Linked DNA regions of Homo sapiens: regions 2, 3, 4, 5 and 6 are each linked to region 1. The links are contacts of gene promoters, found by promoter capture Hi-C in human tissues and cell types (Jung and others, 2019). All regions are on one chromosome and are shown on one strand. The core of a region is centred on a gene start or on the middle of the fragment in contact, and the rest is flanking DNA. Distances in the headings are between cores, read along the strand shown. Region 1 holds the start of FSIP1 (fibrous sheath interacting protein 1). Region 2 overlaps EIF2AK4 (eukaryotic translation initiation factor 2 alpha kinase 4). Region 3 overlaps EIF2AK4 (eukaryotic translation initiation factor 2 alpha kinase 4). Region 4 overlaps FSIP1 (fibrous sheath interacting protein 1). Region 5 overlaps EIF2AK4 (eukaryotic translation initiation factor 2 alpha kinase 4). Region 6 overlaps GPR176 (G protein-coupled receptor 176).

What was found. The method cuts DNA at HindIII sites, captures the fragments that hold promoters and counts their contacts. A contact is called where the count stands out against the background at its distance.
Region 2: a contact is called between a fragment that was not itself captured here and the fragment with the promoter of FSIP1 in region 1, in 1 of the 25 tissues and cell types used here (dorsolateral prefrontal cortex).
Region 3: a contact is called between a fragment that was not itself captured here and the fragment with the promoter of FSIP1 in region 1, in 1 of the 25 tissues and cell types used here (IMR-90 fibroblasts).
Region 4: a contact is called between a fragment that was not itself captured here and the fragment with the promoter of FSIP1 in region 1, in 1 of the 25 tissues and cell types used here (IMR-90 fibroblasts).
Region 5: a contact is called between a fragment that was not itself captured here and the fragment with the promoter of FSIP1 in region 1, in 3 of the 25 tissues and cell types used here (H1 embryonic stem cells, IMR-90 fibroblasts and hippocampus).
Region 6: a fragment that was not itself captured here is called in contact with the fragment with the promoter of FSIP1 in region 1 in 1 of the 25 tissues and cell types used here (dorsolateral prefrontal cortex).

Annotation. Positions count from the first base shown.
Region 1 is chr15:39,779,779-39,784,898 of GRCh38, reverse strand. FSIP1 (fibrous sheath interacting protein 1) reads left to right here and starts at 2,058. Exons shown (of 12, transcript NM_152597.5): 1 at 2,058-2,271. It overlaps LOC105370941 (a long non-coding RNA gene), which reads right to left and starts at 1,993. Exons shown (of 1, transcript NR_135665.1): 1 at 1-1,993. RefSeq lists an enhancer at 1,819-1,948 and a silencer at 2,249-2,428. The HindIII fragment of the contact is 15,521 bases long and covers 1-5,120 here.
Region 2 is chr15:40,010,091-40,015,210 of GRCh38, reverse strand. EIF2AK4 (eukaryotic translation initiation factor 2 alpha kinase 4) reads right to left here. Exons shown (of 39, transcript NM_001013703.4): 27 at 3,865-3,930. Among named protein-coding and RNA genes, the nearest start is that of SRP14, 27 kb to the left of the region's middle. The HindIII fragment of the contact is 7,249 bases long and covers 1-5,120 here.
Region 3 is chr15:39,953,282-39,958,401 of GRCh38, reverse strand. It overlaps EIF2AK4 (eukaryotic translation initiation factor 2 alpha kinase 4), which reads right to left. Exons shown (of 39, transcript NM_001013703.4): 5 at 4,418-4,498; 6 at 2,634-2,782. Among named protein-coding and RNA genes, the nearest start is that of EIF2AK4, 22 kb to the right of the region's middle. The HindIII fragment of the contact is 5,820 bases long and covers 1-5,120 here.
Region 4 is chr15:39,610,720-39,615,839 of GRCh38, reverse strand. All of the region lies in intron 11 of FSIP1 (fibrous sheath interacting protein 1), which reads left to right. Among named protein-coding and RNA genes, the nearest start is that of THBS1-IT1, 27 kb to the right of the region's middle. The HindIII fragment of the contact is 5,221 bases long and covers 1-5,052 here.
Region 5 is chr15:39,937,428-39,942,547 of GRCh38, reverse strand. It overlaps EIF2AK4 (eukaryotic translation initiation factor 2 alpha kinase 4), which reads right to left. Exons shown (of 39, transcript NM_001013703.4): 2 at 2,931-3,043. Among named protein-coding and RNA genes, the nearest start is that of EIF2AK4, 5.9 kb to the right of the region's middle. RefSeq lists an enhancer at 2,537-2,626. The HindIII fragment of the contact is 4,750 bases long and covers 704-5,120 here.
Region 6 is chr15:39,912,386-39,917,505 of GRCh38, reverse strand. All of the region lies in intron 1 of GPR176 (G protein-coupled receptor 176), which reads left to right. Among named protein-coding and RNA genes, the nearest start is that of GPR176, 5.3 kb to the left of the region's middle. The HindIII fragment of the contact is 5,160 bases long and covers 574-5,120 here.

The DNA.
Region 1 (5,120 bases), core at 809-3,308:
CCCTCCTGAGGAAGCGGACGCCTGAGGAAAGAGAGGAGCAAACCAGGTGGATAGCTGGGAAACTGTATTTCAGGCTGGTGTGTGTGTGTGTGTATTTGGACTGGAGGAACAACAAGTGTTTCCAAATTCCTGACAGATACTGATCTTTGGGATGCAGAAACAGGAAATCAGAATTACCAGCTGTTCTCAAAATCTTATTCTTAAAATATTCTCTACCTTCTTCATATTCTTTACTCATTATTACAAGTATCTGAAGCCTTTGTTTAAAAAATGAGAACTATTAAATTTAGAAGTGTTTACAAGAAGTGGGGTTTATAGCAAATATTCAAATGCTGGAAAACACAGAGAACATTATTGAGGAGTATTCAAATAATAGATCTCCTAGCAGGGTTAACTGTACTACCCAGAATCATGGGTTGGAAACTGTCAATTTAAGGATTTACTTTGAATCCAAAACCCGTTACTTTTTTGAACACTGCTCATAGAATTTGTATAAAGTATACAATGAGTATCAACCTATTTATATTTTATTTGCAAGAATGACTCACTGCCAGCGGCACACAGGGCCAGGAACATAGGCTTTCATGGCACCAACTACAAACAAGACTGACTGATGAGATTGTGGCCATGTCTCTCCCAAGTGCTCCTGACCTGGTTCCTGAAAATGTTCACCTCAACCTCGAACTCAGCATTTCCTGTGCTGGTTTTCAACTTGACATTGGTGAATTTCTTCAGTAACATCTCTAGGTCGGCTGCTAAGTTTTAATTCTCATAGGAGGATTAGGATACTTTCTCCCATTTTCTTCAGTTTGCAACTTTTTTTCTTTTGAGATTTGGAAAGCCACATAAATTCCCTGAGAAATGCTGGGAAGAAATCCCTGCACAGAAACACTAACAATGAGGACAGTGAGGCTGGAACCAGGTTTACCAGGGGAAAGCAGTAGGTAGGAGTGGAGGTCAGAGAGCCAACAGAAAGCCTTATCATTTAGAGATGATGTCAGTATGAACCTGAATGGAAGCACTGAAGTTGTGACGAATGTTTGGATTCTGAATATATTTTGAATGTTGAGCTGATAGGACAAATAGATTGTAGAGTGAGAGAGGAAGAAGAATTGAGGATGACTCCAAGGTTTTTGGTCTAGGCATGGCAGGCTGAAATTACCATTTGCTGAGATGGATAGAAAGTGGGTGGGGGACTCTGGAGAAGTTGTTTTTTCCCGTGTTAAGTTTGAGATGCTTACACATCTAAGTGGATATGCCAAATAGGCAGTTAGGTAAAGGAGTCTGGAGTTCAGGGAAGTCTGGGCTGGTGATAAGATGCAGGATTCAGGAGCATAGGGATGGCATTTATAGCCAGGTTTTTATACCCAGCACTCGCCTAGACTGCAGCTGTGTTCTTTCGGCAACTCAGCCTACGACTATTTGCTTCGCTGAAAAAAAACCACATCGTACCTAGTTAAAACAATGAGGACAAAGGGGCCATGAATGTGAAAATGCCCTGTAAACGGTAATGTGCTGTTCAGACTGGAAAGCAGGAGAAATGATGGCAATGGAGGTGAGGAAAATCAGTTTGTGGACGTAGGGAAATAATTTTCGTGCACTGAGAATTAGAGAAACTACGAAATGAAAGAAGGTGCAAAAAGCAATTATAACTCTTTTTGGACTGTAGCCGAATCTGTGCAAAACTCATATTTTTAAAATTTCCATAGCACCCCAAATTTACTAGAGCTTCACATACATGGTCTTTTTGAGCTGCACAAGTCTTGTAAGAAGGGAATTATTATTGTTCCCATTTTACGGAGGAGGAAACTGTGCTCGGAGAGGATAACTGACCTGTAAGGCATCACAGCAATATGAGGGACAGAGATACACAAGCATCCAGACGTCCGCGTTCCGAATCCAACCTAAAGACGAAAAATCGCTCCCAACCCCCACCGTCGGCAGCGAAGACGGAAGGACACACGCCGGCCGTCCCAGCTCGCAGGGCTCCAACAGCCGCCGGCCCCGGTCCCATTTCCGGATGGTACAGCCCTTTCCGCTATCGCGAGACCGGAAGCATCGCGCATCTGGTTGCCAGGGAAACAGCGGTCCCACAGGCAGGAGGGATCTGGACCGGCGGCTTCTTCCACTACCAGAGAGGCTGAGGTGGCGGGAGAGACCCCTCTCCTCTGGGGGTAAGTGGCTGGCGCGGCGAGTGTCTGCGGCGCGCTTCTGCGGCCATCTGCGCCCTGACTGACGGCGGCCAGTTCCTCGAGGAGGCCCGGCGGGAAGGTGAGGGGCCGCGCAGATGAGGGCGGAGCTCGGTCGCGGGGCGGTGCGCCGAGGAGTGGGCGGGGCGGAGCTGCGTCGGGCCGCTTGGCATGTAGATGGACTGTCAGGGAGAGCGGACAGGGCCAATGAGAGGGCGGGGGCGGGCTCATTGGGGGCGGGGCCCCAGCGGCTTCTGCCTCCGCGGAGGCTATTTCTCCAGGAATCACCTAACATTAGGACCTGTAACCAAGGCTTCTACTTTCCCGAGATTTGGATCTTCCCACCAAGATCTAGAACTGATCACCAGCCATTTAAACTAGACCGTAAACGGCAAAGGATGCAAATAGGCATTTCACAGGAAAAATAAAAAGATGCAAACAGCAAACAATTGATTAGAGACTCAACTTTTCTCGTGAAGAAATGTAAACCAAATTCACAGATACCTTTTACACCTATGAGACTGGAGAAGATGAAACAGCTTTGACATAACCAGATGGGCCCCAGCCCAGTGTAGGGGAAGTAGTGTAATTTGGTGCAGCCTTTTTGGAGTACAATTTGGCGAACTACCAAAATTTGAAACATAAGTGTTCTTTGACTCAGCAATTCTAATATATTTTATGGATGTATGAGCATAACTAAAGAAAGATTGGCACAAATATATTAACTTAAAATTGAGGTATAACTTACTTATGGTAAGCCTCACCCATTTAATCTACAGTTCTGTGAGTTTTGACAAATGTATACAGTTATGTAATTACCAACCACCACAATCAGCATACGGAAGTTTCATCATGAACCCCAAATTCCCTAGTGCTCTTTGTATTTAATCCCTCCCCTAACGCCATCCCTGGCAACAACTTCCTAGTTTTTTGTTCCTGTAATTTTGCCTATTCCAGAATGTCATATTGATGGAAGCAAACACCCTGTGGCCTTTTGAATCAGGCTTCTTTCAGCTTAGCATCATGCAGTTGCTATTCATTCATGTTCTGTGTATCAGTTGTTCCTTTATGTTGCTGAGTAATAGTCCATTGTATGGATCTACGGTAGTATATTTATCCATTTCCTACTTGAGGCATATTTGGATGAGTTCTTTCCAGTTGTTGGCTATTATTGATGAAGCTGGTATAAATATTCATGTACAGGTTTTTTTTTGTGTGTGTGAATATGTTTTCATTTCTTGGGTAAATATGAATGAGATTGTGGAGTCATATGGTAAATATATGTTTAACTTTATAAGAAACTGCTAAGCAGTTTTGAAAAGTGATGATTTTGCATTGTCATTGGCAATATGAGTGTTACAGTTGCTCTCCAACTTTGTCAGCACTTGGTATTGTCAGTTTTCTAAAAAATTAATTTTTGTCATTTGAATAGGTGTGTAGTGGTATCTCATTGTGATTTTTATTTTATTTTTTTGAGGGGTAATGATGTTGAACATCTTTTCATGTGCTCTTTTGCCATCCGTACATCATCTGGGGTGATGTGTGTGTCCAAATCCTTTGTTTTCTTGTTATTGAGTCTTGATACTTGTTTATATATTCTGGATATGAGTCCTTTGTCAGATATGTGTTTTGCAAATATTTGCTCCTAGTCTTTGGGTTTTGTTTTCCTTGTCTTAACATCTTTTGAAGACTACAAGTTTTAAATTTTGATGCCTTCCAATTTATCCATATTTTCTTTTATGAATCATGCCTTTGATGTTGTATCTAAGAAATTTTTGCCTAACCCACAGTCACATGTATTTTTTAGAAATTTTATAGTTTTGGCCAGGCACGGTGGCTCACCCCTGTAATCCCAGCACTTTGACAGGCTGAGGCAGGCAGATCACTTGAGGTCAGGGGTTCGAGACCAGCCTGGCCAACATAGTGAAACCTGTCTTTACTACAAATACAATAACAATAACAACGACAAAAAGAAAATTTTATAGTGTGAAGTTTTACTTTAGGTCTGTGATACATTTTGAGCAAGTTTTAGAATTGCTTTTAATAGCAAATATTCTATATACCACCTAAGTGAACTGATGAAAAAAGTGCTGCATCTATGGGATATTATGCTGTTGTTTGAAAGCATGACGTATATCTATAAATGGTGATATAGAAAAATAGATAAAATAAATTTTTTTTTCTTTTTTTGACACGGAGTCTCGCTCTGTTGCCCAGGCCGGAGTGGTGCAATCTCGGCTCACTGCAAGCTCCGCCTCCCGGGTTCAGGCCATTCTCCTGCCTTAGCCTCCCGAGTAGCTGGGACTACAGGCGCCCATCACCACTCCCGGCTAATTTTTTTGTATTTTTAGTAGAGACGGGGTTTCACCGTGTTAGCCAGGGTGTTCTTGATCCTCCTGACCTCGTGATCTGCCCGCCTCGGCCTCCCAAAGTGCTGGGATTACAGGCGTGAGCCACCGCGCCTGGCCAAAATTGATTGTTAATTGTGAAAAAGCAAGTTGCAAAGCACCATGCCATTTGTATGTGTGTCTGCGTTGGGGAGGAGTCGATGGGTATAAAAGATAGAAGGTTTGCATATGCCTAAAAAAATGAGACCTGCAAGTCTCTATTAACACTAATTCTTGGGATAAGCCGAATTTTGACTTAAAACATTTTGATATTCACCTGTATTATTTGATGTTTTTTCTGCATGGGCAAGTATTCCTTACAGATACACAAATATATAAAGTAAAAAAACTGACCATACATAAATAATTTTTAGACATAAAAATAATGAAACTAAATCAGTCCCACTTTTTAAAGTCTTGCTACTCATAATGACTAAACAGAGGAGGATTCATTTTCTTTTGATTCTTTTATTCACCTCAAAATACCAAATTATAGCAGCCATATGTCCCCATTTTGGCTTTAAATCATCTATGTTGATTGCAT
Region 2 (5,120 bases), core at 1,645-4,144, 230 kb before region 1:
GTGGAAGTGACTTTGGAACTGGGTAACAGGCAGAGGTTGGAACAGTTTGGAGGGCTCAGAAGAAGACAGGAAAATGGGGGAAAGTTTGGAACTTCCTAGAGACTTGTTGAATGGCTTTGACCAAAATGCTGATAATGATGTGGTCAATGAAATCCAGGCTGAGGTGGTCTCAGATGGAGATGAGGAACTTGTTGGGAACTGAAGTAAAGGTGATTCTTGCTATGTTTTAGCAAAGAGACTGGCAGAATTTTGCCCCTGCCCTAGAGATTTGTGAAACTTTGAACTTGAGGGAGATGATTTTGGGTACCTGGCAGAATAAATTTCTAAGCAACAAAGCATCAAGAGGTGACTTGGGTGCTGTTAAGACCATTCAGTTTTAAAAGGAAAACAGAGCATAAAAATTCAGAAAATTTGCAGCCTGACAATGAGACAGGAAAGAAAACCCCATTCTCTGAGGAAAAATTCAAGCCAGCGGCAGAAATTTGCATAAGTAACAAGGAGCCAAGTGTTAATCACCAAAACAATGGGGAAAATGTCTCCAGGGCATGTCAGAGGTCTTCATGGCAGGCCCTCCCATCACAGGCCTGGAGGCCTAGGAGGAAAAAATGGTTTCGTGGGCTGGCCCCAGGGCCCCCCTCCTCTATGTAGCTTAGGGACTTGGTGCCCTGTGTCTAAGCTGCTCCACCCATGGCTAAAGGGGGCCAAGGTATGTACAGCTCAGGCTGTTGCTTCAGAGGGTTCAAGCCCCAAGCTTTGGCAGCTTCCATGTGCTGTTGAGCCTGCAGATGCACGGAAAACAAGAATTGAGGTTTGGGAACCTCCGCCTAGATTACAGAGGATGTATGGAAACGCCTGGATGCCCAGGCAGAAGTTTGCTGCAGGGGTGGGGCTCTTATGGAGAACCTCTGCTAGGGCAGTGCAGAAGGGAAATGTGGGTTTGCAGCCCCCATACAGAGTCCCTACTAAATGCTAGTCCATGGAAGCATCCAGGAGGGAGGCTGTACCCTGCAAAGCCACAGGTGGGGAGCTGCCCAAGGCCATGGGAGCCTACCCCTGGCATCAGCATCACCTGGGTGTGAGACATGGAGTCAAAGGAGATCATTTTGGAGCTTTCAGATTTGACTGCCCTGCTGGATTCTAGACTTGCATGGGGCCTTTAGCCCCTTTGTTTTGGCCAATTTCTCCCATTTGGAATGGGTGTATTTATCCAATGCCTGTACTCTCATTGTATCCAGGAAGTAACTCACTTGTTTTTGATTTTACAGGCTCATAGGCGGAAGGGACTTGCCTTGTTTCAGATGAGACTTTGGACTGTGGACTTTTGAGTTAATGCTGAAATGAGTTAAGACTGTGGGGGACTGTCAGGAAGGCATGATTGGTTTTGAGATGTGAGGACATGAAATTTGGGAGGGGCCATGGGTAGAATGATATGGTTTAGCTGTGTCCCCATGCAAATTTCATCTTGAACTGTAGCTCCCACAATTCCCCTGTGTCATGGGAGGGACCCAGTGGGAGGTAATTGAATCGTGGGGGCGGGTCCTTCCCATGCTGGTCTTGTGATAATGAATAAGTCTCACGAGATCTGATGGTTTTATAAAGAGGAGTTCCTCTGCACAAGTTCTCTCTCTTTGCCTTCTGCCATCCATATAAGATGTGACTTGCTCCTCCTTGCCTTCTGCCATCCATATAAGACGTGACTTGCTCCTCCGTGCCTTCTGCCATGATTGTGAGGCCTCCCCAGCCATGTGGAACTGTGAATCCATTAAACCTCTTTCCTTTATAAATTACCCACTCTCGGATATATCTTTATTAGCAGTGTGACAGCAGACTAATAGAGGGATTAAAGATAAAAATTTTGGCTGGATGCAATGGCTCACGCCTGCTATCCCGCTATAAAAAAGAAAAAAAAATTAAGTGGGAGGCTGAGGCAGAAAGATCTCTTGAGCCCAAGAGCTTGAGGTTACAGTGAACTATGATTGTGCCACTGTAATCTAGCCTGCGTGACAGTGCAAGACCCTGTCTCAAAAAAATAAAAAGAAAAAAATTTAAATTTAAAATCATGTATTCGATTTAAAATATTTTTTTAAGAAAATAAAAATGATTTCTTCTCTATAAATTTGAACATTAAATTACCCCAATAATAAACTACCAGAAGCACTGAAGTCAATATCTCCAGATTTTGGTCCTCACCCTATCATCAACTAACTCCATGTGACTCAGGACAAATCACAACATCTCTTTGGGCCTCAGGTGTCTCATTTGTGAAATAAGAGGACTGGGTCAGATATGTGAAACTCTTTGGCAATATTTCTACTCCCCTTCCTAATACCCTTAGAGTCCATTTTAAAATAATCAAAGTACCAAATGCCTTTATTAGATACTATTTTTCTGTTTTTAACTGAATCAGACACGTCTAATTAACACTTAGCATCATCGAATAACCAGTGGTTAGAGATTTAACAGAAAGAAAAGAAGTTGACATGTGAACAACCAATGTGGCTATTACGTCCGAATGTATATTTATAAGACTTTCTTAAAAAAAAAAAAAGATGTTCTGAAATGTGACTTTAGTCCAAATAACCTTTTGGGTTGGAAACTTGGGTATAGAATCATTGAACTGAGCAGTCTTGTGCAGATTCTCTGTGCTATTTACACATGGGACTATTTCTGCACATAGGTGTGTGCTGTGTACATGTTTAGATTATATGTAAATACTGTATATTGTCCTTCATATTTGGATATTTAGCTGTTGTGTTACTTTGCATATCATTACTATCTCCCCCAATATTAAATATTTAAGATTTAACCTGGCTCAATTTTCAGAACTCCTAGTGCTATGCATCTGGTTTACTTTCCCTACCCGCAAAGGGGTGATTTCTTTGAACTCTGGTTTCCGTGTGCCCTCTGAAAGCTGTTTTACAGAGTTGAGGGCAGATACATGCTGTGCATATCCCCTTATGGCTTTTTAAAGGCCAATATGAACCAAGAAGCTGAATGCAGTCTATGGACTCTTCTTTATATCCCTGCCATTGTGCCTGCCACACTGTAGGTGTCCGAAAGATTGAGTGACTCTTCCTGCCCTGTGTACAATCATATTTTAATCTATCCCATATGTGAATTTTGCTGATCAATGCAAGATCATATAATTGAGTGTCAGACAAGGGCCTAGACAGGTTCCGGGAAATTAAAAAAAAACTTTCCTTATTTAAATATTCAGGAAAATGTACAAAATCCCTGTTGTATTCTGTTGTTCAGCTACTCAATTAAGTGTGGGTTACTGTACCAAAGATCTGGGATCAATCTGATGCCTACAGAGAGAATATGACCAAACTGTTTATTCCATAAGATTTCCCTTATTGATGATGGGATCAAATGTAAGATTTTAAGATTAAGAGATATACCAGAAAAGCTAGAGCTTTAATTCAACTCTGAGGAGTTAGAAGACATGGAGGTAGGGGAAGGGTAGCTCCCCAGATGAATTTGCAGAATTCTGTGCCTCCTTCTAGTCCTGTATAATCTAATTCAAAAGAGGACAACTGGTATTAGGTATGTTCAGCAGGAGGCTCTACCAGGCACAGCTCTATAAGGGGTGACAAAGAAAAGTATCTGCTGATCAAGAAAGAGCAGGATGATTACAGCGTATCAAGAAGAAGCATGGAGAGACATTCTTTGATCACAGCATTAGTTTCTCCCTTCTCCTAATCCCAGAGGTTGCCATGGTACCTAACACTCAAGGGAAAAACTGCATCTGCGAGGTGGTAGGAAGCGCTGGCTGCTACCCTACTGCAACGAGAATTTGATGACATTTTCTGGTATCACAAAATTACAGAGAAAGCTGTAATAATACCATTAGAAGGTACTTACACTATTAGAAGACAAAGACAGATTACAAAATTTAGCTTCCACTTCTCTCCTCGTCAGCTTCTCTGTCTAACGTGGAAGAAAAAGGTAACAATGAGAGTCGCGAAATCTGGCACTGAACAAGACACAATTTCCAGGCGAATTCTAACAAGTATAGCCTTCATTTTGAACAAACTGCTCCTAATGGTACAGGATAGATTGAATTCTGTGATTAAAAAATTTTTTCTCCCAATTCACACAAAACCGTAATTAACTTATTTTAAAATCTGAAAAACCCTGACAAAAGAATTAAAAGGGGAAAGTTGTACTTGCTGAATGGTGAGGTGACCCAAATCTGGACAGGCTTAATGAGGGCATTTGTTTGGGCAGGGAGGGAGTCATTTTGCTCTGGGCTCCCCTAACAAAGGCCAGGCTCTGGGCATTTCATCCCACGCTGGCAGATGTGCCGTAGCCGCAGGACATGAATCAGTAAGAGCTGAAGCCCCTTGCACAATCCCTGGGGTTTCTGCCAGTGTCCGATTGACATCATATTGTATCTGTCACTGACAAACAGCAGCAGAGCTTTAGGGGGAGTAAAGAACCACTAAGAAACAAGCAGTAAAGTTTGGGCCATTGATGTGTACCTGCCAGATGAAAGAAAAGCTAGTTAATCCTTTTGGTGTATAAAAACAATAAGCCATTATGTGAGGACTTCCACTACTCTGTCTTAACCATAGACTTCTGGTGCTGTTAGTTCTTACATCTCCTGGATGCCTCTTATTCATTATGAAAACAAAACTTAACATGAAAAGATATTAGAAAACATAAGCATTCACTTCCATCTTAGCATCATAATATAACACTAATTCATTTTTTCAATGCGTCCCCTTCCAGTCTCTGTACCCGCACATATACTATAAAGTAATGAATACTATGATGTGACTAAATTAGGGAAGAGTAACTGGAGGTGCCATAGCCTCAGTCCCACAGGAAGGAGGTGGTAAATGAGGCCCCACCAGAGTTCGAAGCCATTCTGCCTTAATTCAATCAATGCAAATCTATACATGACTTTACTGATAAGCACAGGCAGACTGGAAGAATCAAGGGCAAGGCACACTGTTTATTCTCAACATGAACAGTTGCTCTCGGTCTCTAAAGGAAAGGTAATAGCAGCACTGGTGTGAGAATGAAGTGAGTTCATCCATCAGAGGAGCTCAGAACAATGCCTAGCTCACAGAGCGGGGCTCAGTCAATGTTAACTATCTTTGAAATTATTATTG
Region 3 (5,120 bases), core at 1,445-3,944, 170 kb before region 1:
AATAGGGAAAACAAACTAGATAACCTAATCTTGTTGATGGTAGATATAAATAGGTGATATATTCTAGATTCTGGGCTACACTACGGTAATCTGCAAAGACAGCAAGTCTGAATATGTGAAGGTAATTTTCTACCATGAGCTATTTTATAGAGGTTTTTTGGTTTTTTAGTTTTGCTTCTTCTACAAAATTCATATTGCCCACTTATGAGGAGCAACATCCCAGAAACAAGGCAGTGGGTTGGGGGGACTATGTCTGCACTTCACAAATACAGCCTCACGCTGAACTGTACACATTAAAATAGCTAATTTTATGTTTTTTGATTTTTACCTTAATATTCTAAAAAGTGAATCCTTCAAGGTGGGAAAAGAAGACTTGAAGCACAGAAAATAAAGTTCTTCAACAAAAGCCAAGACTCATCAGTGAAAAGCCTTTGAGTATCAGGCCTTTACGTTCTTTCCACTAGAATAGTGAGTGGTTCTCTTTTCTCTCTTTCTCTTCTTTTCAGCGTGAACATCTTTTGTTAAATAAAACCTCACTGGTTTTTTACATACCCCACAGATCAAGAGAAGCAAAACTGCCCTGGTTAAAGAGGCTGTAGACCCTACAAACACCAGAAACACAGTGTCCCACTTTCCCTGTGTCATCTTCCCTCCCTGGCTCCCTCCCTGCATCAGATGTTGACCAGGCACCTACCATGTGTCTTCCAGGCACGATTTCAGGCTTTGAGGAAAACACAGATGAGGGCTTTGCTCTCACAGACCTCACATTCCAAAGTAAACAAGTGAATAACAATTTCAGCTAGTGCTAAGTGTTATGTAAAAAATAAAGCAGAGAATTGGAGAGCAAGGGACAAAGCAGGGAAATAGGGTAGAGGGGGGCTCAGGAAGGCATCCCTGAGAAGGTTGCATTTGAGGGGAGAACTGAATGAGAAGGAGGGGCTCAGCAAGCAAAATGCCAGAGGTTGAGTAGTCCAGGCAGAGGGGTCGGCAGAGGCTCTGAGATGGGAAGGAGTTTGTTGCCCAGGCTGGTCTTGAACTCCTGGGCTCAAGTGATCCTTCAGCCTTGGCATCCCAAAGTGTTGGGGTCACACACATGAGCCACCGTGCCCAGCGTGCTATCTCTGATCTCAAAAACAAGCCTAACCTTGGATTCACTGTTTATAGTTAGCCACAAAAATAGAAATGTTTAAACTTAAAACAATCATCTTCCATATATCTGAAAAGACTTATTTATATCATTGATTTAATTCAAAGGTTCTAATACAACAAAAATTTGTTAGATATTTCCTAGTGAAATTCTCTGACAACTTCAAACTCTGTTGCTTATTAGAAGCCCAGATTCAAAAATAATTTAAATTGGGAAGGAGTTATAATCTTAAAAAGGAATGGTTACCAGAAACAGTATTTTTTTAAAAATTTAGTTAAACCTAATAGTAGGTAAACATTAGTGTCAAAATGATTTCTGAACTGTTTTTTTAGTAGTAGATAATTAGGGAAAGAACTAAAATGGCTCCTTCTAATAAACAAACTATACAGAAGTTTATATAAATCTTCAGTTTGGTGCCTAAAATGTTTCTTTTCATGGAAGCAAAGTGGTGGTTTTAAGTTGTGCTTAGAGTCTCACAAGAGATAATTTAAACATACAATGAAGGTTGAAGTCCCTACACTATTTAATAACCCACCCCACTCATAAATGGTTTCTTCACCAAAATTCCTTTCTGGTGTACAGGGGGCCACAGCAAATAGAGAGCAAAGTTGGAATTCTTCAGTGAAAAAGATATAGAAGAACAAGTAGTATCTTTTAAGTGACCAGTGGTGACAGGGAACAGCCCAGGAGCCCACCTCAGTATTAGGGAGGGGACCCCTGGCAGCCAACTGGGGTTCCTACTCTCATGTAACAGATGTCTCACCTGTGCTCATTTTCAGGCACTCCTTACAACTGTGGTGGGACCTAAGGCATTGTAGACTGAAACACTGGATGATGATGATTCAAATGGAAGAAAAATTTTAAAATCACTTACTGAATTTAAGTTTATAAATGTTAAATCGTACTAAGGCAAGTTTGTGATGTGTTATAGGCTGTTATAAAGGGGAATGAGGCTGGGTGTGGTGGCTCATGCCTGTAATCCCAGCATTTTGGGAGGCCGAGGCGGGTGGATCACGAGGTCAGGAGTTCGAGACCAGCCTGGCCAACACAGTGAAACCCCAACTCTACTAAACATACAAAAATTAGCCAGGTGTGGTGGCACATGCCTGTAGTCCCAGCTACTTGGGAGGCTGAGGCAGGAGAATCGCTTGAACCCAGAAGGCAGAGGTTGCAGTGAGCTGAGCCCGTGCCATTGCACTGCAGCCTGGGTGACAGAGCGAGACACCGTCTCAAAAAAAAAAAAAAAAAAAGGGAATGAGCAACAAAACTAGATTCATGATAGATACTTGGAAAGTGTTAAACGCAATTTAGTTTCATATTGCTAAAAATACACCTAATATATTGCTAATATATTAAGATATATAAGGTTTGAAAAAAGTTATTAAGACTATCGCCTGAAATTTCCATCAAATTTCACTACATCTTCAATGTAGTAAAATCCTTCTACATCTGTCATTCTCCCAGATCAGAAATCCCAGGGACTTACCTAGACCTTCCTGAGGAGTTTGCCCGATGTTTACCATTTCCTACAAAGTCAGGAGAGCCTCCATGTAGAATGGCAGCCGTTCTGTGTCCTCCTGGGTCCTTCTTAGAGGTATGATCTTGGTTTGACAAACTAGCAATTTCCAAACGTTCCTAGAACAAGAAAAGTAAAACTTACTTTAGATGTAAGTCATACATGGAAGAAAATCATGGTACATAATTATTAATTCAGTATAGAATGCAAATTTTAAGCTGAATGTTTACAAGTGAAATAAAATTGAACTTAACTTTTAATCGTTTAAAATAGCTAGAAGGAGGATATTGAATGTTTCCAACACAAAGAAATGCTAAATATTTGCAGTGACGGATGTGCTAATTACCCTGATCCGATCACTATACATTATATGTATCAAAACTTCACTATATACTCCATGAATATATACAACTATTATTGGTCAATTAAAAAATAAAATTAAAAAAATGTTAATGCCTAAATATGTACTGGCTCAAGAACTGAAGTCCAGGTTATGGTTTCAAGAAAATGTAAATTTTATAAATGAAAATGCTTAGAATCTTGCAATAGTGTAAAAAGTTAGGGAGAAGAGTAACAGGAGATGAACAGAAGAAGGGAGAATCAAAGAGAGGGCAGAGAGTGGCTGACAGGAAGGCAGGTCAGGAGCAAGACAGGAGCACTGGTGGAAACAGGGATCTCATCTTACATTTTTACGCAGGTTTAGTTTCACATAGGGCAGTACACTTATCTGTGGAGGTAATTATACAAGACAGAAAGAAAGGCATTATCAGTCCCATTTTAAGGGACAAGTAAAGAGAGTCACAGAGAATGTCACCTTGCCAAGGTCACAAAGTGAGGCAGCAGGAAAGCTGAAGCTTTAAACCAGGAGAAGCTTGCTTGTGCTTCAGTGCCTCTTCCTGCTACCACATCATGTCCCTTAAGTTTAATGCTCTAATTTATGTAAAAGAGAATGAGTAAAATTTTCTCTGAATTTCTCCAAACACGTCTGACTGGTTTTTTGCTTGAGCTAGACTCAGGAAAAATAAAGGAAAAAGCACTCTATCCTTTTTCACCACTGCCTTTTAAATCTGCTCTGTTGAATTACTCTTTTTCATCACTGGATGAAATTTCAGGCAGATCCATATGGTTTCTATTCCCTCTTCAGTATCAACAAATCATTTTATTTTCCAAGTATTAAGAATTCTAGGCCAGGTGCAGTGGCTCACGCCTGTAATCCCAACACTTTGGGAGGCCAAGGTGGGTGGATCACTTGAGGCCAGAAGTTGAGGACCAGCCTGGCCAACATGGCAAAACCCCATCTCTACTAAAAAATACAAAAATTAGCCAGGCGTAGTGGCATACGCCTGTAATCCCAGATACTCGGGAGGCTGAGGCATGAGAATTGCTTGAACCTGGGAGGTGGAGGTTACAGTGGGCTGAGATCATACCACTGCACTCCAGCCTGGGCGACAGAATGAGACTCTGTCTCAAAAAAAAGAACAATTTTAGTCCAGGTTAATTATTAAAGACGCAATCTCTTCCCTCCCTCATTTGATAAATTACAGTAATTATGTAAGTCTAAATCATCTACTGACAACATAAAACTCTAAATTTTGCCACCTATTTAGGGAGTCTGAAATACACAGTGAATATTTATTTATTTTTAGTGCTTTATTTTAAGCTGTATTACTGATAGTAACACAGATGTCATCAGTGGAAATAAAAACACTTTGTTTTGCAAAATGTAAATTATTATGGTGGAGTTGATAGGGTACCTGCTTAGCCATTTCTTTCCTTTTTTTCTCTTCTTTTATCTCTTCTTTCCTTCTCTGAATCTCATGCAGGATTTCACGTTGCTGAAATAAATCAAACCATCATCAAATGCCAATCTCTGAAACCCATACAACATATAAATTATGGAACTACAGAAAAATCTTTTAACTTTCAATAATTCAAACCCTCTCTTCCTAAGAGATCTGAAAACACAGCATCTTAGTACAAACTGCAGTTCTATCAGTTTTATCAGAGTTCTTACGCAATAGGCATTCCCATTTAAACAGGTTTGAGCGTGTGTGGGGAGGGGCATTTACTCCCCATTCTTCATGTTTCTATGTGCAGGAGATTTCCACTACAGCAACACTGTTGGCTTCTCACTTCTTCCGACACTTGTCTTAGCTCCTCCTGTTTGATATCTGCCTATCTGCAGAGAACAAGCACTTGTGCCTGCTCTCTGCCATGGGGGTCCCGGTCAGCTTGGTGAAGGTGGGCTGAGCAAGCCTCAGTGCCTGCACCTGAGGTAGCCATGGCCCAAGTACCATACCTACCTGCCATTCTTCAATCACCTGTATTTTCTAATCAGCTTTCTCAATGTTAAAAGTGGTATTTTGATCTCTATTTTGCATTATTCCTCTAAAATTCCAGATTATAATTATCAAAACTATTAAGAGATTCACCAAAAACCATAACAGCAATAATACA
Region 4 (5,120 bases), core at 1,193-3,692, 170 kb after region 1:
CCTTTAGCCAACAACTCTCCATTCCCTTTTTCCCCCTCTTCATCCCCCAGCCACTGGTAACTGCCATTCTACTCTCCACTTCCATGAGTTTGACTTTTTTTTTTTTTTTTTGTATTTTTAGTAGAGATGGAGTTTCACTGTGTTAGCCAGGATGGTCTTGATCTCACCTCTTGATCTGCCCACCTCGGCCTCCCAAAGTACTGGGATTACAGGCGTGAGCCACCACACCCAGTCTCTTTCATCTTTTGATAATAGTTGTTATAACAGGTGTGATGTAGCATCTCGTTTTGATTTTAATTTACATTTTCTTAATGATTAATGATGCTAAGTATTTTTTCATGAACCTGTTGGCCATTTTTATGTCTTCTTTTGGGAAATGTCTGTTCAGGTCTTTTGCCTATTTTTTAATTTTTTTTTTTTTTTTTGCTATTGAGTTGTTTGAGTTCCTTATATATTTTGGATATTAACCCCTTATCAGATGTGTAGTTTGAAAATATTTTCTCCTACTTCACAGATTGTCTCTTTACTTTGTTCATTGTTTTCTTTGCTGTGCAGACACTTTTTGGTTTGATATAATCACATTTGTCTATTTTTGCCTGTGCCTTCAAGGTCGTATTAAAAAAAAGTCACTGCTCAGACCAATGTCATGGAGCATTTCCCCTGTTTTATTCTAGTAGTTTTACAGTTTTGGGTCTTATATTTGTGTCTTTAATCCATTTTGAGTTGATTTTTATACATGGAGTGAGATAAGGATCAAATTTTATTATTCTGCATATGGATATTCAGTTTTCCCAACACCATTCCCCATTGTGCATTCTTGACATCTTTGTCAAAAATCAATTGACCATAAATGCATGAGTTTATTACTGGGCTTTCTGTCCTGTTCTGTTGATTGACTTATCTGTTTTTATGCCAGTAGCATGTTGTTGCAATTATAATTGTGTTATACTTTGAAATCAAGGAGTGTGATACCTCCAGCTTCTTTTTTGGTCAAGATTTCTTTGGCTATTCAGGGTCTATTGTGGTTCCATACAGATTTAAGGATTGTTTCTTTTATATTTCTGTGAAAATGACATTGGATTTTTGATAGGAATTGCATTAAATCTATAGATGACTTTGGATAGTGTGAACATTTTAACCATTAATTCTTTCAGTCCATGAATATGGTACATCTTCTTTTTTTTTTTTTTTTTTTGAGATGGAGTCTTGCCCTGTCACCCAGGCTGGAGTGCAATGGCATGATCTTGGCTCACTGCAACCTCCGCCTCCTGGGTTCAGGCGATTCTCCTGCCTCAGCCTCCCGAGTAGCCAAAATTACAGGTGCGTGCCACCACGCCCGGCTAATTTTTTCTATCTTTAGTAGAGACGAGATTTCACCATGTGGGCCAGGCTGGGAACATGGGACATCTTTTAATTGATTTGCTTTTTCTTCACTTTCTTTCATCAGTGTTCTATAGTTGTCAATATATAGTTCTTTCACCTCCTTGGTTAATTTTTTTTATTAGAGACAATTGTTAATGGGATTGTTTTCTTAATTTCCTATTTAGATAGTTTGTTCTTAATGTATAGAAATGCTCCTGATTTTTGTATGTTGATTTTATATCCTGTAACTTTACTGATTTTTTTTTGTCACTTCTGACAGTTTTTTGGTGGAGTCTTTAGCATTTTCTATATACAAGATCATGTCATCAGCAAAGAGAGATAGTTTCATTTCTTCATTTCCTATTAGGATGCCTTTTATTTGTTTTTCTTGCGTAACTCTGGCCAGGACATTAAGTACTATGTTGAAAAAAAGTGGTGAGAGTGGGCATCCTTGTGGAAAAGCTTTCTACTTTTCACCGTTGAGTATGATGTTAGTTACAGATTTATCTTATATGGCCTTTATTATGTACTTTACCTCTATACCTAATCTGTTGAGAATTTTTATCATGAAATGGTGTTGAATTTTGTCAAATGCTTTTTCTTCATCTATTGAGATTATCATATGGTTTTTATCCTTCATTTTATTAATGTGGTATATCCCACTTATTAATTTGCATATGCTGAACCATCCTTGCATACCAGGGATAAAGCCCATTTGATCATGTGAATGATTCTTTTAATTGCTTTTGAATTCGGTTTGCTAGTACTTTGTTGAGGATTTTCACATCTGTGTTTATCAGGGATATTGGCCTGCAATTTTTTTTTCTTGTGGTATTCTTCTCTGGCTTTGGTATCTGGGTAATGCTGGTCTTGTAAAATGAGTTCAGAAGGCTTTCTTCCACTTCAGTTTTTTGGAAGAGTTTGAGAAGCACTGGTATTAGTTCTTCTTTAAATGTTTGGTAGAATTCAGTAGTAAAGCCATCTGGCCCTGGGCCTTTTTTTGATAGGAGGCTTTTTATTACTGAGTCAACCTCCTTGCTCATTAGTGGTCTGTTCAGATTTTTGTTTCTTTATGATTCAGCCTTGGCAGGATGTATGTGTCCAGGAATCTGTTCACATCTAGGTTATCCAATAAAATATCTAGGTTATTATATGTTGGCATATAATTTTACATAATTACCCTTTGTATTTCTTTGGTATCAGTTGTAATGTCTCCTCTTTCATTTCATTTTCGTTTTGTTTTAAATAAGCAGAAGTTTTGAGCTTAAAGACTTTAAAAAGTATTTGTTATTGCTTTCTAATCGCACAACAAATGTAAATTTGTTGAAGGCTATTTGAAACATACAGAAAAGTGTAGAAGATAAAATCATTGTCCAGACCTATTCATTGTTAATATTAACATTCATCTTTTTTCTAGTTGTGTATTTTAAATTGTCTTCATATTCTTCTTATAATATATTCTGATATTTTTTTCTTTTATATTTTGAGCATTCTGTGTTATTAAATATTCTTCTAAATCATTCATTATGATGGCTGCAATGTATCTTATGATGTATCATAATTTAAGCATTTCTTTATTTTTGGTCGTTTATATTAAGACTTTTTGTATAAGCTAAAACTATCATGAGACAAAAATATGGTCATAATCATTATCTTCCCATTACATGATGGTGTGATGAGTTCAGAGGATTTGATTTATTTGAGTTTTCTTTCTTTCTTTTCCTAGTTAGTCTAGCTAAGGGTTTGTCAATTTTGTTTATCTTTTCAAAAAGCCAATTCTTAGTTTTGTTGATTTTTTCTATTGTTGCTAGTCTCCATTTTGTTTATTTTGGCTCTAATATTTGTTATTTTCTTTCTTCTGCTAACTTTGGACTTAGTTGGTTCTTTTTCTAGTTTTTTGAGGTTTAACATTAGATTGTTTATTTGAGATTTTTTCTTTGATAATAAGCATTTATTGTTTTATATTTCCCACTTAGAACTGCTTTTGTCAGCATCCCATTAGTTTTGATATGTTGTGTTTCCATTTTTGTTTGTCTCAAAATATAGTTTGATTTCCTTTTTTCCCCCCTCTGACCTATTGTTTGTTTAGGAGCATGTTGTTTAATTTCCACATATTTGTGAATTCACCAAGATTTCTTGTTATAGATTTCTAGTTTCATGCCACTGTGATCAGAAAAGATACTTGATATGATTAAAATCCTCTTGAGTTCATTAAGACTTGTTTTGTGGCCTATCCTGGAGAATGTCCCATGTGTGCTTGAGAAGAATGTGTATTTTCTTGCTGTAGGGTGTGATGTTTTGTATATGAATGTGAGGTCCATTTGATTTAAAGTGTAATTCAAGTCCAATGTTTTCTTATTGATTTTCTGTCTAGATGATCTCTTCATCATTGAAAGTGGGGTATTGAGGTCCCCTACTCTTATACTATTGCAGTCTATCTCTCAGATCATGTAATAATTGCTTTATGTATTTAGGTGTTCCAGTGTTGGGTGTGTATATGTTTACAATTATGTCCTCTTAATGAAATGATCCCTTTATCATTATATAATGACCTTCTTTGTCTCTTTGTGTAGCTTTTGACTTAAAGTCTATTTTGTCTGATATAAGTATAGCTAACCCCTGCTCTCTTTTGGTTTTCATTTGCATGGAGTAACTTTTCCATCCCTTCACTTTGTCCATGTATTTTCTTACTAGTAAAGTGAGTCTCTCACAGGTAGCATATAGTTGGCCTTTTATTACTATTTTTTCAACCCATTCAGCCACTCTATGTGTTTTGACTAGCGACTTTAATCCATTTACATTCAAGGTAATTGCTGATAGGTAAGGACATGCTACTGCCATTTTGTAATTTGCTTCTGGTTGTTTTGTAGAGCTGTTGTTTCTTTCTTCCTCTCTTGCTACTTTCCTTTGTGGTTTGATAATTTTCTGTGATGGTATGCTTTGAATCTTTTCCTTTTATATTTTGTGCAACTATTACAGGTTTTTATTTGTGTTTACCATCAGGTTTATATAAAACATCTTGTACAGGCTGGGCATGGTTGTGCATACCTGTAGTCCCATCTACTTGGAAGGATGAAGTGGGAAGATCACTTCAGCCAAGGAGTTTGAGCCCTGCCTGGGCAATATAGCAAGACTCCATCTCCTTAAAAAATAAAAAAAAACAACAACAAAATATCTTATTATAACAGGCTATTTTAAGCTGATAACTTTTATCACATATAAAATCTCAATACTTTAACGCCCTCCCCCCGACAACTTTTATGATTTAGATGTAAATTTTACATCTTTTTGTAATTTGGATTCCTTTAACAATTTATTATAGCTGCATTTGTTTTTAATAGTTTTGTTTTTTAACTCTCATAATACAGAGAAAATTCCTTTACACATCATCCTTACAGTATTATTCTGAATATGACTATGTCTTACTTACACCATTTAGTGCTTTTTGCTTTTATAAGTTTTATGTATCAATTAGGAGCCTTTTATTTCAGCTTAGCTCCCTTTAGCATTTCCTGTTAGGCAGGCCTAGTGGTGATAAACTTACTTAGTTTTTGTTTGTTTGGGAAAGTTTTTATTTATCCCTTATTTCTGAGGAATAGCTTTGCTGAGTTAAGTATTCTTGGTTGCCAGTTTTGTTTTTCTTCTACACTTTGATTATATTATCCCACCCTTTTATGGCTTGCAGGGATTCTGCTGAGAAATCTGCTGGTTGCTGTTTTGGGACTCCCTTGAATATTATACATTCCTGATCTCTTACT
Region 5 (5,120 bases), core at 1,829-4,328, 160 kb before region 1:
CAAGCATTTCTGAGTAATTCATGGCATTTAACCAGTGAAGTCTTGAGTATGCACTTATCTATGCGTTCTCTCAATGCTTCAGTATGAAAGGGTGCTATGATCATTATCTATTTCTATAGATAGAAATCTGAGAGAAAGTAGTCTATATGAGGGAAAGAACAGAAAAACAAACCATACAGTCCTGACTCTATGTATGGAATCCTGGGTTAGATTCCTCCCCAAAGAGCTGGGATGGGGCTGAAATTTCTAGAATTCCTCCCCAAAGGTCTGGGATGGGGCTGAAATTTCCAGAATTCCAGAATCTAACCCGGGAGTCTCTCTCTCACAGTGGCACCCAGGACTATTCTGCAGAAAAGCAATGTTTTCCTGTACCACATTCAAAAGGATAAGAATATTACCCCAAATTAAGATTTTTGTTATAATTTAAAAAATAAGTAATCATAATATAGCAATATTAACAGAATGGAGAAAAAATCATCAATGATGCTAATTAAACTTCAAAAAAAATTCTAATGTTCTCTTTATTTCCTTGCTATATAATTCATAGTTTATGTAGCTGATATTATAATGTTTGCTTTTTAACTTTTATAAGCATTTCCATGTTAAAAGCAATCATCCCATAATATTTTTATCAAGTGGACACATTAAGATTTACCTGAATAGTTATCTAGTGCCATGATTCTTAACCAGGGGTGATTTTGGCCCCAGGGGATATCTGCCAACATCTGGAGACTTTTTTTGGTTGCCACAACCTGGGGAGAAATGTACTCCCGACATCTAGCAGACAGAGGTCAGGGATGCTACTAAATATCCCACAATGCCCAGGAAGGACCCCACAACAAAGAGTTATCTGCCCACATGTCAGTAGTGCCAAGGTGGAGAAACCTCACTCTAGTATTTGACATTTAGATTGCTTCCAATATCTTTGCTTTCACAAATAATGCTATAATTAATATTTTAGCACTTATATAACATTATAGCACTTATACCTTTTTCTTTATTTTGATTTTTCAAGAATAAACACTTTGAATTCTTGAGGCTATGGTATAATAAAAAAATATATATTTGATATTTGACCCCTGTTCCTGGCACAGAGATCCTATCACCCTTGGAATTTCCTGAGCAACAGGGGTGAGAGGAGCATCTTATGTTTTTCATAACAAACCCCTTCCAACCATACCGGAGTTAGTACTCATGAGGGAACTCTGGTCAGTACCTGGATAGCTTCAGGATCAGGACTGGTCACCAGAAAAACCAAGCCTTGATTACAGGGTGAGAAATTTCAGCCCCATCCCAGATCTTTAGGGAGGAGTAGGGGGCTGAAGATCAAGTTCAATCACCAGTGGCCAAAGATTTAATTAATCAATCATCTCTACATAATGAAACCTCCATAAAAACCCCTAAACGACAGGGTTCAGGGAGATTCTTGGTTGAAGAACACAGGGAGGTGCTGGGAGGGTGCCAGGCCTGGAGAGGGTATGGGAGCTCTGTGCCTCTTCCCACACACCTTACCCTTCATAATACTTCCATGTGGCTATTCCAGAGCCATATCCTTTACAACAAACTGGTAAATGTAACTCACAGAAACTGAGTTCTGTGATGCATTCTAGCAATTATCGCAACTTAGGAGGGGGTGGTGGAAACCCCTAAATTTATAGCCAGTTATAAATACTGGCTATAAATGGTCAGAAGTACTGGGACTTGCCACTAGCATCAGAAATGGAGGCAATCTTGTGGAACTGGGTCCTTAATCTGTGGGGTCTTTGCTAACTACAGATAGTGTCAGAATTGAACTGAACTACTGGACACCCACATGGTATCAGAAAAGGCATCATGTATTTGGTGTCAGGAAAAAAAAACAACCTAGAGAGGCACTCTTTTAATTTCCTTTCATAAATTTTTAATTATCTTTTTCATTAATGTTTTATAATTAACGTTTCGTTAATTAATATTTTTATAGTATGTATAGTATACCTACTATAATACTCTCAGGACAGTTTTGGGGGCCAAGAATGGTTACTGACTTCAAGGAGCTCAATTTTGACTTATCTGTCTTTTCATATCCTCCCTATCACTTCTTAGGATAATAAATTCCATAAATTTACCACCCACTGTGTAAAGCAGAGTTTCCTTTTACTTGTCCCTTTCCATCTCAAAAACCTTCACTGGTTCCCCATACAATAATTTCAAACTACTTAACGCCATCCAGGCCAACCTGCCTTTCCATGTGGGATGGGTGGGGAAAGATTACACCAAATAGACATGCTTAAGTGCTGATGGCTAACACTTTGGCTCTAACTAGTTTTTCTCAACCAGAGGTGACATCACCTTCAGAGGGAGTCTGGAAATATGTAGGTTATTTGGTTGTTTCAATGCCTGGAGGACACTCGTGGCATTGGTAGGTGGGGGCCAGGGATGCTAAACGTACTGCAGTGCACAGCACAGCCCTGCACAATGGACACTCGCCAGAGTGCCCCATTGAGAGGCAGGACAGATCCAAATACTCTCCCTCACTCTAGGCAGTGAAAGGTCATCTGAGGCACAGACTTGCTGAATTTCTAATACCAGCCACACTCTAACTATGCAAGGGCTTTCAACAGTCACCATGCCTTTATTGTTTTCTTCCAAATTTTCCTCTTCCTAACTTATGAAGAAATAAATAAACAAAAGTTAACACATCAGAGGAAGCAAAATAGTCACTAGGCAAATATAAGTATCTGTAGTGACAATTCTATAACTATGAACAGGCTTAAAATGAGACAGGTTTCATGAAAACATCTATTGCTGATGTAGTTTTGTTGAAATAGAGGAAATGAAATTTTATGTGGAATGGGAGCAGGAAGGAGAAAATACTACGAATTTCAATCTGTTTCTATGTTGTCAAAACAGAAAACTGAAACCACGTCAAAGCTATTTATAAATGTACTCACACATCTGGATAGGTAGGTGGGCATTTAACCCTCAAATCCACTTTTACATATACTTCTTCACCAGTTAGGCCTTGAGGGTACAAAACTAAATTGATTTCAGGGGGCTCTTTGACCTAAAAGAGGAAAAACAAAAAAAATTTTTTTCAAAGCTGTAGAGCCAATCATTAATGATTAAGATAATGATCATTTTAGATCAAAAGTTCTACTTTAAAAATATTTGTAATTATATTTTAAATAGATAATCTGGCATACTTTCCAAAAGCATGATTTAAAAACAAAACCTAAGCCAGTGAAAATGCACTTTCCTTTTTTAAGTTATCTAAGGAATGAACCAAAATGTTCCACTCAGCTTCCATTCGTTCAGATGTTACTGAGTTATTATGCCTGGGTGCTCTCCTGGAAGCTGGGAGTGCAGGGGTAAATTTAGACAGACACAGTCCCAACCAGCTGATACAAACTAGAAGACGAGTGATTTCAAATAGTGATGAGTGCTGTAAAGAAAACAAAGCAGAGTAGAGGGACATAGTGGTGGGCGAGGAGAAGGTATCTGGACAGGTAGGTCAGTGAAGGACTCTGCGAGCAGGGGAGATTTGAATTGAGATCTGAATACTGAGATATTAACAAATGAAAACCCTTGACAAGGAGAGAATTGCATATGTTTTCAATCAACTACTTTTCACCAAATCGCAAAATACCCTTGTTCTTCAATTTAGATACACTTTTTCCAAAGTGGATTTGAAGTAGTTCATATTATATGTATATAATGAACAAGGGGAGTCTGAGAGAAAAAACAATGGCTGAGCGCTCCCATGGTCCAGGCACCTTACCAACTTTGCAAGGCAGGTGTCATCTCCATTTTACAGATACAGAAGCTCAGGCTCAGGGAGTTTTACATTCTTGCCTACAGATACACAGGGACAGAGCTGGGATTCAAACCCAGCCTTAACTCCAAACCCTGTCTCCTCCCATAAGCCACTCTTTTATTATGCCATCCTAAGTTGCTGGGATTGAGCCTTGATTTTTTTCTCTGAATGTCCTGGCAGGCAGGGCAAAAAGAGAAACGTGGTATCATCAGAAAAGAGAAAGCCTAAAAATTATTTTAGGGAAGCAAAGTACTTATAATACTAAATTCTAACAGAAATTTATAACGTGAACCTTACAAGGAGTACCATATAATAAACACTGTACTCTTCTACTATGTGTACAAAATTTGTAAGATCAGTTCTTATATGGCTTTATAATAATCCTTGATAAATGTGTGGGTCCTTCCATAAAGCATAATTCTGCGAATGTGGTCTGGGGAAGGGTTAAGCACTCTTTGGTCCACAGGTCTTTCATCCACTCATTCACCCATCACACATCCATCACCCATATTTGCTAAGCACTGACTCTGTGTCAGGCACTGTGCTTAGTCCACGGAGGTGAGAACACAGATATGGTTCCAGCTCTCATGGAACTTCAGTCTGGTGGGGGAAAACAAACATAATAAACACATAAGTACAAGCTTAGAGAGTGCCGTTGAAGAGATGACGTGGTGCTCTCCTTAACAAACGACTTGGGGTGTGAGGGTATATACTTAAATGTGGTTATCAAAGAAGAACTATCTGAGGATGTAGCATTGAAGCTGAGACAAGCCAAGAGACCAAGCATTCCAGGCAAGGAAAAAAAGAGACTTGAAATACATTTGAGAATTATTTCATTCAGTAACAATTTTTGAAAGTTTTTTGTTTGTTTTACCAGGCACTGGGCTTGTAGGAATGGCATTTCAAATGAGTGGAAGACACTGAAAAATTCAATTGCCTATATTTGTCTAGCTGCCTAGCTGGAGGAGGAGGGATGCACACGGGGAGGTGGCCTAGGCCCGTACTTTGATGGAACGAAGAACTTAAAAAAAAAAACCTACTTATATCTTTATTTGATGAAAATTTAAAAACGAAGTCATGAACAAGTTAAAAGTAAACTTTGACGAATTTGGTTTTTAGTAACATTGGAACAGAGGGGGAAAAAAAACCCACAGGGACCATAAAAGAAAAAAAAGGTCATTTTGACTCTATCAACATTTTTTAAATCACATAAATTACGTAAATAAATGCATATAATTAGGAGAAAAATATATGCATTATATGACCCAAAATGCTAGTTTTCTTAAGATATTTAGCTCTTACAAATAAACAAGAAAATGGACCACAG
Region 6 (5,120 bases), core at 1,904-4,403, 130 kb before region 1:
AAATTAGCTGCATGTGGTGGCATGCACGTGTAATCCCAGCCACTCGGGAGGCTGAGGCAGGAGAATCGCTAGAACCCGGGAGACTTAGGTTGCAGTGAGCTGGGATTTCACTGCTGCACTCCAGCCTGGGCAACAGAGTGGAGTCTCCAAAAAAAAAAAAAAAAGTTCAATCACAACATTGCCCTGTATACCTGTTACTTATTTTTATTTTTTTTTTGAGACGGAGTTTCGCTCTTGTTGCCCAGGCTGGAGTGCAATGGCAGGATCTCAGCTCAGCTCACTGCAACCTCTGCCTCCCGGCTTCAAGTGATTCTCCTGCCTCAGCCTCCCAAGTAGCTGGGATTACAGGTGCCCGCCACCACGCCTGGCTAAGTTTTTGCATTTTTAGTAGAGATGGGGTTTCACCATGTTGGTCAGGCTGGTCTCCAACTCCTGACCTCAGGTGATCAACCCACCGCAGCCTCCCGAAGTGCTGAGATCACAGGCATGAGCCATGATGCCCTGCCTACGTACTGGTATTCTTGATTCATTGTTTTCTAAGGACTTGTCCCATTCAAACACATCTGTGTACATTAGAATTCTGATAATGTCTGTTGAGGCTCAGAGCTTAAGTTTCAAAGCCATGTGCAGTCAGAAGCAAGGCAAGAAAACTTGGGAAGCACATTTCATAAAGCCTCCAAATAGAGAAAAATCATAGATTAGGAATAAAAGAAAAGGAATCTGTATGATTGAAAAGTAAATTGTGGGAGGATGGAATAGTACCTGGAAAAAATAACTGATTAAGTAACTTACTTTTCTTATTTCTTCTGCCCCCAAACATAGACAAATTCGTTTTTCTTTATTTTTTTCTCTTGAAACAAATTTAAATATACTTCTTATATTCTCTAAATAGACTTCTTTTTTATTGGGATTTCCAGAGGACCATTATTATGTGAAAATAATTCATTTGTACTACTGGTGTCTTGTACCTCTTTTTGAAAACTGTTTTAGTGTCTTGTATTAGGAAAAATCCCTAAGAACTTGGAATAACTGTAATATTCCAACCAGAAGGAACATTATTTGCTGTGTTGAAAATGAACACAAGGCTTGTACATAATATTATTCAAATAATATGTATTTTGGGGGTTTGCGTAAACCAGTGTTTCTCAGCCTTCTTTATACAACATCTTGGCATATCTTTAGGTATGTTGTAGATACTGAAATAGAGTAAAATAATTTAGATTCCTCTTCAATGGCACCAATCACTTTTAGTAGTCAAGAGTGTGAAATCAAAGACTCCAAAAGATCTGGAATCACCATTTCCAATTGAACTGGAAATGGTGGATTGAACTCCTCAGAGTTAATATTTCTCTTTTTCCCCTTCTCCTTAGATTCACAGTCTAAGTACCAAGAGAACTGGGCTCCTCTCTGGTGCTTTGACTTGAAAAAGGTAGGTGGCTATGATCTAGCCTATTACCTCTGAGCTCCTCCTACACAGGTTGCCTGTCATCTGTGGCAATCATCATCAGAGGTATAAGAGATTTTTATAAATGAATTTGCTTTTATTTAAAGAAAATTAACATGGTGGGCAATAACCCACAAGTATGTATCCTACATTGCAATTTATTTTTTAATTCTTTTTGTTTTGAGATGGCGTCTCACTCTGTCGCTCAGGCTGGCGTGCAGTGGCACAATCTTGGCTCACTGCAACCTCTGCCTCCTGGGTTCAAGCAATTCCCCCTGCCTCAGCCTCCCAAGTAGCTGGGATTACAGGTGCCTGCCACCACGCCCAGCTAATTTTTTTTTGTATTTTTAGTAGAGACGGGGTTTCACCAAGTTGGCCAGGATGGTCTTGAACTCCTGACCTCAGATGATCCATCCGCCTCACCCTGCCAAAGTTCTGGGATTACAGGAGTGAGCCACTGCGCTCAGCTGATTTTTAACATTTTTTAAATAGAGAAATCAGCTTTCCTTTGTCTGGCTAGACCGCAAAATGTATGGTTCTTATTCTTAAGCTATATTCCCTTTCCTTTATAGACTGAATGTTTATATTCCCCCTCAAATTCATATGTTGAAGCCCTAATCCCCAATGTCATGTTATTAGGAGGTAGTACCTTTGGGAAATAATTAGGTTTAGATGAGGTCATGAGGATAGAGTTCTCAAGATGGAATTAGTAACATTATAAGAAGGAACTAGAGAGCTTGCCCTCTCTTTCTTTGCACCATGTGAGGATATAGCAGAAGGCAGCTGTTTGCAAACCAGGAAGAAGGCCCTCCCCAGAACCCAACCACGTTAGCACTCTGATCTCAGACTTCCTAACCTCTAGAACTGAAAGAAATGTCTATTTTTAAAGCCACCCAGCTTTTGGTATTTTGTTATAGCAGCTGGAGCAGACTAATACACTTATGAATGGTCTGTAGTGAGCATGTGAAATTGATGACCCCAAGTAAAGATCCAACTTGCCTGTGGCTTGATTCCATGAGGTGGTTATTGAAGTATTCATTTGAAGGGAAAGGTGGGAAATCGACTTGTTAAATCTGTTCAGCAGATCTGTTGGATAGACACTAGTTTTGCTCATGCTTGCTTATAGTCTTTGAGCAAAATCATATGGGGTACCAGCAAGGTTCATGGTACTTGTTTGATAGAGAAGTATACTTGTGCTTTTGATATTATTTGAAATTAACCAGAGAATAGCTGGATTATTCTTGGAGTTCCTTAGTTAAATGTTTGATAGAAGATGTGTTAATACTATAATACTAGTTTGCACTTATAATTTGTAATTACTCAGGATCATTTTTAGTTAACAATACTTACAGCCAATAATAATATAATATCAACAGCCTTACTTCTACATGGAGTTTCTGTCTTTTGTATGCCTAAAAACCTAGCAGACTACGTTAAGAATAAGGTATCCTGGGCCAGGTGTGGTGGCTCATGCCTGTAATCCCAGCACTTTGGGAGGCCAAGGCGGGCAGATCACTTGAGGTGTTCGAGACCAGCCTGGCCAACATGGTGAAACCCTGTCTCTAGTAAAAAATACAAAAATTAGCCGGGCATGGTGGTAGGCGCCTATAATCTCAGCTATTCAGGAGGCTGAAGCAGGAGAATGGCTTGAACCCAGGAGGCAGAGGTTGCAGTGAGCAGAGATCGTGCCACTGTACTCCAGCCTGGGTGACAGAGTGAGACTCCTTCTCAAAAAAAAAAAAAAAAAAAAAAGAATAAGATATCCTGAATTGATGCCTAAGGAGGCAGGAGGTGGTAGGATCAATAGTTACTAGCTTAATATATTGAATCAAATTGCCTCACATTGTCTTTTATTTCTATATGATGTCTATATGATAGAATTCTTCCTGGAAATTAAATTCTCTGGTGAAAATTTAAAAAAAGCTTTATTGAGATAAAATTCATACAATATAGAATCCATCCAATTAAAGAGTACAACTCAGTGGTGTTTTTTGTTTGTTTGTTTGTTTGTTTTTTGAGACTGAGTCTCACTCTGTTGTCCAGGCTGGAGTGCGGTGGCGCTATCTCAGCTCACTGCGAGGTCCGCCTCCCAGGTTCACGCCATTCTCCTGCCTCAGCCTCCCGAGCAGCTGGGACTACAGGCACCCACCACCATGCCCGGCTAATGTTTTGTATTTTTAGTAGAGACAGGGTTTCACCGTGTTAGCCAGGATGGTCTTGATCTCCTGACCTTGTGATCTGCCTGCCTTGGCCTCCCAAAGTGCTGGGATTACAGGCGTGAGCCACCGCGCCCGGCCAACTCGATGGTTTTTTAGCATATTCACAAAGTAGTGCAACCACTACTACTACTGAATTCCAGAAGGTTTTTATCATCCCATAAAGAAACCATGTAACCTAAAGAAACCATGTATCCTTCGGTAGTAGCACTGCCTTTTTCCCCTCAATACCTTGAGCCCTAGGCAATCACCACTCATTTAGTTTCTTTCCTTCTTTCTTTCTTTTTTCTTTTTTTTTTTTGAGACAGGGTCTTATTCTGTCTCCCAGGCTGGAGTACAGTGGTGCGATCTCAGTTCACTGCAACCTCCACTTCCCGGGCTCAAGTGATTCTGCAGCCTCAGCCCTCTGAATAGATGGGACTACAAGTGTGTGCCACCATGCCCATCTAATTTTTGTACTTTTTGTAGAGATGGAGTTTTGCCACATTGCCCAGGCTGGTCTCAAACTCCTGGACTCAAGCAATCCGTCAACCTCAGCTTCCCGAAGTGCTGGGATTATAGGTGTTAGCCTCCAGGCCTGGCCCTACTTTCTGTTTCTATAAATTTACCTGTTCCATAGATCTGTCACACAATATGTGGTCTTTTGTGACTGGCTTTTTTCACTTAGCATAATATTTTCAGGATTCATCCATGTTTTAGCATATATTAGCACTTTATTTTTTATTGCTGAATCATATTTCATTGTATGGATATATTACATTTTGTTTATCCATTCGTTTGATAGACATTTGGGTTGTTTCTACTTTTTGGCAATTATGAATAATGCTGCTCTGAATATTTACGTACAAGTTTTTATGTGGACATGTGTTTTCAGTTCTCTTGAGTATATACCTAGGAGTGAAATTGCTATATCATATGGTAACTCTTCTTTTTAGGAACTGCCAGACAGCTCCAAATATCCCTGGTTCTGTAATGAATATACTTTTGTTTTATTTGGTGACATTTTGTAGACTAGGAGGAAATTTGTCTCAAAATGGGAACAAAGAAACATAGCTATGTTTTCCTGTGGGATGTCCAAGTCTCAAAGTCTCTTGTCCCTAGAGTTTGCCAAACAATTTCTGCATATGTCACTTAATCTAAATCTAAATAAGCCATTTAGATTCTGTAGTGACTGGGAACTGTTGTGAAAGGTTGTTTTTTCCTTTTCTTTTCGTTTTTTTTTTTTTTTGAGACAGGGTCTCACTCTGTCACCCAGGCTGGAGTGAAGTGGTGCGATCACAGCTCGTTGCAGCCTCAACCTCTCAGGCTCAGGTGATCCTTCTACCTCGGCCTCCAAGTAGCTGGGACTACAGGCGCATGCCACCACACCTGGATAATTTTTTTTTTTTCTTGGTAGAGATGGGGTTTCACCATGGTCCTCAGGCTGGTCTGGAATTCCTGGGCTCAAGTGATCCACCCAC